Linked DNA regions of Homo sapiens: all the other regions are linked to region 3. The links are contacts of gene promoters, found by promoter capture Hi-C in human tissues and cell types (Jung and others, 2019). All regions are on one chromosome and are shown on one strand. The core of a region is centred on a gene start or on the middle of the fragment in contact, and the rest is flanking DNA. Distances in the headings are between cores, read along the strand shown. Region 1 overlaps PCMT1 (protein-L-isoaspartate (D-aspartate) O-methyltransferase). Region 2 overlaps NUP43 (nucleoporin 43). Region 3 holds the start of RAET1E (retinoic acid early transcript 1E).

Region 1 (2,700 bases), core at 83-2,582, 130 kb after region 3:
TCCACCTTCCTCGTCCTCCCAAAGTGCTGGTATTACAGGTATGAGCCATCATGCCTAGCAAAAAAATAAAAAATAAAAAATAAAAAATAAAAAAATAAGGTCAATTAACGACACTATAAAGGGTATAAATACAAACTTTCCAAGTAACAATGAATATTTTTTAAAATTAGCAAAAAAGGCACATCAAATAGAGAAAACAATGTAAATAGTAATAAACTAGCAAAGACAAACTTATATGGTCTTTCCATTTTAAAATATAAATTTTGGATAAATTACCCAAATAGAAAATATTATTTCTACCCGAAGAAGCATAGGCAAGCTACCCAAAAAGGTAATTAGAATAAAACACTGAAAGCATTTTTTAATTTTTTTTTTTTTTTTTTTTGAGACAGAGTCTCGCTCTGTCTCCCAGGCTGGAGTGCAGTGGCACGATCTTGGCTCACTGCAAGCTCCACCTCCCGGGTTCACGCCATTCTCCTGCCTCAGCCTCCCGAGTAGCTGGGACTACAGGCACCCGCCACCACACCCGGCTAATTTTCTGTATTTTTAGTAGAGACGGGGTTTCACCGTGTTAGCCAGGATGGTCTCGATCTCCTGACCTCGTGGATCCGCCCGCCTCGGCCTCCCAAAGTGCTAGGATTACAGGCGTGAGCCACCGCACCTGGCCGCATTATTTTATTTTTTATATTTATTTATTTATTTATTTAGAGACGGAATCTCACTCTCGCCAGGCTGGAGTGCAGTGGCGCGATCTCGGCTCACTGCAAGCTCCGCCTCCCGGGTTCACGCCGTTTTCCTGCCTCAGCCTCCAGAGTAGCTGGGACTACAGGCACCCGCCACCACGACTGGCTAATTTTTTGTATTTTTAGTAGAGACGGGGTTTCACTGTGTTAGCCAGGATGGTCTCGATCTTCTGATCTCGTGATCTACCCGCCTCGGCCTCCCAAAGTGCTGGGATTAAAGGCGTTCAGCCACCGCGCCTGGCCCCATTTTTTAATTTTTAAAGAGATATGGTCTGGCTTTGTTGCCCAGGCTGGAGTGCAGTGGCACCATCATAGTTTATTATAACCTCAGACTCCTGAGTTCCAGTGCTCTTCCTGCCTTAGCCACCCCAACACCTAGGCCTACATGTGCATGCCACCACACTCGGCTAATTTTTAAAAGTTTTTTTTTAGAGAGTGGGTCTTGCCATGTTGCCCAGGCTGGTCTCAAATTTCTGGCCTCAAGTGATCCTCCCACCTCAGCTGAGATTACAGGTGTGAGCCCCTGTCCCTAGCCTGAAAGCATTTTTTTTTAAAGTTTTAAAAGCAGAGTAATAATAGCAGTGATATTCGCTTAATGTTTACCATGTGAAAGATACAGTACTAATAAACAGAATCTTATGTTGTCTCAAATAAGCCTATAAAGTAGGCACTATTATTATTTCATTTGACAGATCATAACATTGAGGTTAGAAAGACTAGTTAAGTAGTCCAAGATAACAGAGCAAATAAGGGGTAGGGTTATTCAAATTAAGATGTTAGATTTCTATGATCACTTCACTATACTGCTACTAACATATTCAAATAGCTTAGTGAGTTCTACTAATTCATTTCCCAAAATAATTCTTGAGTGGTTCATTTCCCCTGAAATTAATTCAAATCCCAGAGGGTGATTCATAGACTCTCAAAGTCACAAGAGGCTTTAGGAGCCATTGAGTCTAACTTCATAAATTGGTACCATATTCTCTTCTAAAAGAGTTCCATTATTGTGGTTCTTACTAGCTCATTCAGACCACTCTGATTATTAGACAATTTCCCTGTATTAAGATGAATCTCCCTTTTCATAATTCACTCACATGACACTCTTAGTGTTATTCTCTGAAGCCACAAAGAATATATTGAATTTCTATCTAGTCAACCATTTTTTACATAAAGATAAATCAGGACTACCTCCAGCTTTATTTTTTTCAGGTTAGGCAGCTTCACTCAACACTGCCAATTATTCATCAATTTTTGAAACCATCATCATATTCACTGTATTCATTCTTCTCTAGATGGATACTTAAAGTGTGACATCTTAAAGATTTTACTTGAGGCACATTCTAAAAATCAAAGTAAATTAAAGAAATCACTTCCTTCAAGCTCGATAATATACTTCTATCAAATTTATGTGAGCTTCTTTGGCTCTACAGATATGAAGGCATATGGAAGTTACTAAAAACTCTAAATTGTTATTAATAGCATGCCATCAGCCATTTATTAAAAAGCTGAACCCATCATGTCTCAGAATAAAGCTTTTTTAGGCATTACTGGGTGGTTTCCAAAATTTTCACAAGTTTCTTATTATTTATTTTTGCCCAGGATCCCATGTTCTAAAAGATGCTTAAACCAAACTATTATATATTTACTAAGCTATTAAATAATTTTTCTGTCATTGGTAATCTATGATATATATATCATAGATATATATATCATAGATATCATAGATATTTATATCATAGATATCATAGATATATATATCATAGATATCATAGATATTTATATCATAGATATCATAGATATATATATCATAGATATCATAGATATATATCATAGATATCATAGATATATATCATAGATATATATATCATATATATCATAGATATACATATCATAGATATATATATCATATATATCATAGATATACATATCATAGATATATATATCATAGATATACATA
Region 2 (2,700 bases), core at 97-2,596, 160 kb after region 3:
AAAAACAAAAAGAAAAAGAAAACAGTAGGCCAGGCGTGGTGGCTCAAGCCTGTAATCCCAGCATTTTGGGAGGCCGAGGCTGGTGGATCACCTGAGGTCGGGAGTTCGAGACCAGCCTGACCAACATGGAGAAACCCAGTCTCTACTAAACATACAAAATTAGCTGGGTGTGGTGGCACATTTCTAATCCCAGCTATTTGGGAGGCTGAGGCAGGAGAATAGCTTGAATCCGAGAGGTGGAGATTGCGGTGAGCCGAGATCGCGCCATTGCAGTCCAGCCTGGGCAACGAGCAAAAAAAAAAAAAAGAAACAGAAAACAGTTCAGATGTCCTGTGAGTAAATGTTTTTCCCATCCAAAGAGAATCCATTTAAACATATACATTAACCATGCATTTTTCTATAGAAATTTAAATTATAAGTTACTGGAAATTGTAATATATCAATCCATGAAAGGAGTGTGATTTAAGATTTTCTTGGGAAAAAAAGGGGACTCATTAACACATACTACCATTTTTTAAATTTTTAGACAATGCAGATAGTAGTACACTCCATGCTGTAACCTTTCTTCGAACTCCTGAGATTCTTACTGTAAATTCAATTGGACAGTTGAAAATATGGGATTTCAGACAACAAGGAAATGAGCCTTCTCAGATATTGTCACTGTAAGTGTTGATTTGTAATTTCAGTAATGTAATCCACAAATTAATGTGTTAGGTTGTTTATAGCTACTGGCTTTAAGCCATATTGAATTTTAATTGCATTTTAAGAGGGAGATCCCTGATTAAAATTTGGTAGAGCAAGCATAACTTGACGGGGTTGGTACTACTATGCTTCATTTAGTAATTATTTGTTATAGTGATTCAGAGCCTTTACTCTTTGAAGTTTGTATTATTTCATGGAGAACTTATTTCTGCTCTTTCAATGATTGTTTAATGGATAAAATATACTCCAGATGTAATGATTGGGGGAAAAATATAATTCCAAATATTTTTTCTGAGCAGAAATCCCCCTTTGTAGGTGTACAACGTTCTCTCGTAAGAAAATAGAATGTGTCACACTGAAAAAATAGTTACATAAACTAAGCATTAAATAAGATGATAAATAATATTTAGTATATAATTGATGTATGAGTTTTTAAATAATTTAACAAGTGGAAATGTGATTTGTACATCTTACCATCGGATTGTCTTTCATTCCATGTCTCCAAATTGAAGTGAAAATGAATAATTGTGGCCTTGAATTATTTCAAAATTGTACTATTTAGAAATATATCTAATTTAGTTCATTTTTTTTGGTATCATTAAGATTCAGCCAGGCTGGGCGTGGTTGCTCATGCTTGTAATCCCAGCACTTTGGGAGGCCGAGGCAGGCAGATCACTTGAGGTCAGGAGTTCAATACCAGCCTGGCCAACACAGTGAAACCCCGTCTCTACTAAAAATACAAAAACTAGCCAGGCATGGTGGCACGTGCCTATAGACCCCGCTACTCAGGAGGCTGAGGCAGGAGAATCACTTGAACCTGGGAGCCAGAGTTTGCAGGAGAATCACTTGAACCTGGGAGGCAGAGTTTGCAGGAGAATCACTTGAACCTGGGAGGCAGAGTTTGCAGTGAGCTAAGATCGTGCCATTGCACTCCAGCCTGGGCAACAAGAACAAAACTCTGTCTCAAATAAAAAAAAGATTCAGCCAGTAGCTCCAGCCACTAAGTTGACACTTAGTTACCATATAAAACATGTTTCTTGGCTGAGCATGGTGACTCATGCCTGTAATCCCAACATTTTGGAAGGATTATCTGCGGTGAGAAGTTTGAGACCAGCTAGGGCAACACAGTGAGACCCCATCTCTACCAAAATTTCTTAAAATAGCCTGGCACGGTAGCATGTGCCTGTAGTCCTAGCTACTTGGGAGGCTGAGGCAAAAGGCTCTTTTGAGCCCAGCTTGCAGCAAGCTGTAGATAGGCCATTGCACTGTAGCCTGGGTGACAAGACAAGACCCTGTCTCTCTTTTTTTTTTTTTTCTTTGAGACAGAGTCTTACTCTGTCACCCAGGCTGGAGTGCAGTGGCATGATCTTGGCTCACTGCAACTTCTGCCTACTGGGTTCAGGCGATTCTCATGCCTCAGCCTCCCAAGTAGCTGGAACTACAGGCATGTGCCACCATGCCTGGCTAGTTTTTGTATTTTTAGTAGAGATGGGGTTTCGCCATTTTGGCCTGGTTGGTCTTGAACCTCAAGTCATCCACCTGCCTTGGCCTCCCAAAGTGCTGGGATTACAGGTGTGAGCCACTGAGCCTGGTCTCTTAAAAAATAAACAAAAAAAAACAGGCTGGGCACGGTTACCAGTCATCCCAGCACTTTGGAAGGCCAGGGTGGCTAGATCACTGGAGCCTGGGAGTTTGAGACCAACCTGGGCAACATGGAGAAACCCCATCTCTACAAAAATACAAAAAGTTAACCAGGCATGATGGTACACACATGTACTCCCAGCAACTCAGGAGGCTGAGGTGGGAGGATACCTGAGCCCAGGGAGTTTGAGCCTACAGTAAGCAATGATTGCAGCGCTGCATTCCAGCCTGGGTAAGTGAGGCCTTGTCTCAAAACAAACAAAAAACGTGTTTCCTGTGTTACACAAAGATAAATTATACTTTATTTGATTTTGACGTCATTGTTATCTCCCACAAAAGGACTGGTGACCGAGTGCC
Region 3 (2,700 bases), core at 14-2,513:
ATTTTAAAAAAAGAAAGAAAGAAAGAAATACAAGGGTTCCAAATGCGAGGGGCAGGGAGAACCAGGCGTGGAAGGGTGTGCCACCTGGGAGCAGGAGTGGGAGTGAGCCGGGCAGATGCCTGAAGGGCAGTCCATGCTGAAGGGAGGGCAATGCAAAGTCCCAAGGCACGGGGACATCTGCAGGGCTCTGAAGACCAGCAAGGAGGCCGAGGGTGGAGGTCGGAACTGAGCGAGTGAGGGGGCATAATGGACAGCTGGCCAGACTGTGCAGGGCTCTCTAGGCATCTGTAGTGACTTTGGTTTTACTGAGAGAAAAAGGGCACTTTTGGAGAATTGGAGCAGAGGGGGGCGTGAGTGATGAGGTTCTGAAGATCACTCTGGCTGCGCTGTAGCCATTTGGGAGGTGGGGACAGGCACGGAGAACCAAGTAGGGCAGCACTGCAATCACCCTGGCCAGGAGGACGGTGGCCTAGAACCAGGGTCGAGTACTAGATGACAGTGTGGTCAAATCATAGATATTTTATTTCTAGTCCAAAGAAGAGATAAGAAAGAGGTCGAGCAAATAGGTGATTTTTTTTTTAAATTATTCACAGCCTTATAACATAACCTCTAAATCTTCAGTAAAGTTGGCTACATTCACAAGTAGCTGGTGTCACTTTGGTGGGGGCTTTGTAAGGAAGTGGGCAGGGTGTCTTTTAAGGAAGACTCAGGAGAAGTGCTGGTCTTCCAGTTGCAGAGGGGAATGGAGTTGCAAGAAGAAAACAGCGAGGTTCAGTGACACACAGTGCGAACACGAGCTCAGGGGGCAGGAGCTCCAGGTCTCAAGAGGGCAGGACGATAATGCAGTGTTTGCACAGAAACCAAGCAATAGAGGGAGCCAGCACCCACCAGAAATGAGGTAGGGCCGCTGTCACAGCTATGCCAGGACCTGCAGAAGCCTAAACCCTGAAAAAAGGTGGGGGCCCCCACCTACATATCAAGGAAAACATATGTATGCCATCACATGCTGGTCTCCAACAACTGCTAAAATTACATTAAATCCTTTCTAGAATTTCGTGGCTGGGACTTGAGTCTGGTCTTGGTCCTTCTACTGATGGTGAATCCAGTACTGAATTGGATCCAATTCTGGACGAGTTACCCTGTCCTAGAATCACTCACACGTGACAGTTGACAGGTGGCCCCACCCGGTTTGCATGGTGGACGGGTGTTCTGCTAGGCCGGCCTCTCCACACCCAGAGAGACTGAACTGGTTTCTGCTCCTCAGAGAGTTTGCACAGAGACTCTGAGGAAGCAGTCACCTCAGGCCTCTCCATCCTAGAGACGGCAGAAGGACAAACATCTCCTGCTGGCACAAGGTAGGGGGTGGGGGATGGCTGGTGTTCCAAACACCCGTGCAGAGGGAACGTGTGCATGTTTGGGAGTGAAGGAGGAAAGCAGGGGCTCGAGTGGTGAGAGAACCAGGGGCAGATAATGAAGTAAAAGTGGGGTTGGGGGAGATGCTGGGGGTGTGGCGGCGGGGACGCTGGATAAGGCAGGGAGGACGGGGTGGCTCTGCGGGTCCTCTGCCTCCACACCAAGCACTCAGGGATCCGTGCCTCCTTCCAGTCTGGAGTCCCAATCGCCCCTCTCTCCAATTTGGGGGACAGGGATTTCTCCTTGTTCTCCTGCCCTAACTCCTTCTTTCCGACTTCTCTTGTCCCATTCTCCCTCAGATCCTCCCTTCCGCTTATGCCAAGGCTTCCACAGCCTCGCTCTGCCGGGCCTTGGCATTCCTAGCCTGAGTGTTGAAACCATTGGCCGGGACCTCAAGGCAGCTGGGGCAGGGAGAGGACGGTTAGAAGCCCAGGGCACACTGCCACAAAAAGGCTGTGACTCATTTTCAGGGATTGAAAACTGCAGTCCAATTCATTTTAAAATTTTCGTCTCTCTTTGGACTTCAGGCTGAAAGTTCTTTATAGCAACGGGCTTCCAGGGACTATGTGAAATTATTGGTTTCACTTTCCTTATCACCCGCTTCTTACTTCAATTAAAATTCCATTTCAGCCGGGTGTGGTGGCTCACTCCTGTAATCCCAACACTTTGGGAGGCTGAGGGGGGAGGATTGTTTGAGCCCAGGAGTTCGAGATCAGCCTGGGCAACGTGATGAGACCCCATCTCCACACCAAAAATTTAAAAATTAGCTGGGTGTGGTGGCTCATGCCTGTAGTGCCAGCTATTCTGGAGGCTGAAGTGGAAGGACTGATTGAGCCTGGGAGTTCAAGGCTGCAGTGAGCCGTGCTCATGCCACTGCACTCCACCTGGATGACAGAGCAAGACCTGGTCTCAAAAAACAAAACAAACAAAAATCTACTTCATATGTAACCATTACTTCAGTTTTGAAACCATTGCCTGAAGCTGACATTTTGCAGTTGGAAAATGGCTATTCCTTCCCATCTTCAGGTTGGCTCAGGCCAAGCTGAGATTCAGGACCACAGAGGGCAACAAAGGTGGAAGGGCCCCTTTCCCCTTTCTGTATATTTTTCCCAGCCTGTCTGCAGCTCTTTCTTTTTCTTCAGTGTTAGGTTGGCATCCCAGATGTCAGGACCCAAGTATAGGCCTGGTGTGCTCCTTCCTGTGAGTCATCAGACTTGTAGAAAATATTGGCCCTGCTAAGGAGCTACTCAGTGGTCATATCACACATATGCACGCACACACACACAA

What was found. Contacts are between HindIII fragments. The study calls those that stand out against the background at their distance.
Region 1: a contact is called between a fragment that was not itself captured here and the fragment with the promoter of RAET1E in region 3, in 1 of the 25 tissues and cell types used here (aorta).
Region 2: a contact is called between a fragment that was not itself captured here and the fragment with the promoter of RAET1E in region 3, in 1 of the 25 tissues and cell types used here (aorta).

What each region holds. Positions count from the first base shown.
Region 1 is chr6:149,763,045-149,765,744 of GRCh38, reverse strand. All of the region lies in intron 1 of PCMT1 (protein-L-isoaspartate (D-aspartate) O-methyltransferase), which reads right to left. Among named protein-coding and RNA genes, the nearest start is that of PCMT1, 15 kb to the right of the region's middle. The HindIII fragment of the contact is 5,916 bases long and covers 1-2,700 here.
Region 2 is chr6:149,736,605-149,739,304 of GRCh38, reverse strand. NUP43 (nucleoporin 43) reads left to right here. Exons shown (of 8, transcript NM_198887.3): 5 at 527-662; 6 at 2,683-2,700. Among named protein-coding and RNA genes, the nearest start is that of NUP43, 8.6 kb to the left of the region's middle. The HindIII fragment of the contact is 8,101 bases long and covers 1-2,700 here.
Region 3 is chr6:149,896,676-149,899,375 of GRCh38, reverse strand. It overlaps RAET1E (retinoic acid early transcript 1E), which reads left to right and starts at 1,263. Exons shown (of 6, transcript NM_001394057.1): 1 at 1,263-1,355. All of the region lies in intron 1 of RAET1E-AS1 (RAET1E antisense RNA 1), which reads right to left. RefSeq lists a silencer at 709-1,003. The HindIII fragment of the contact is 8,770 bases long and covers 1-2,700 here.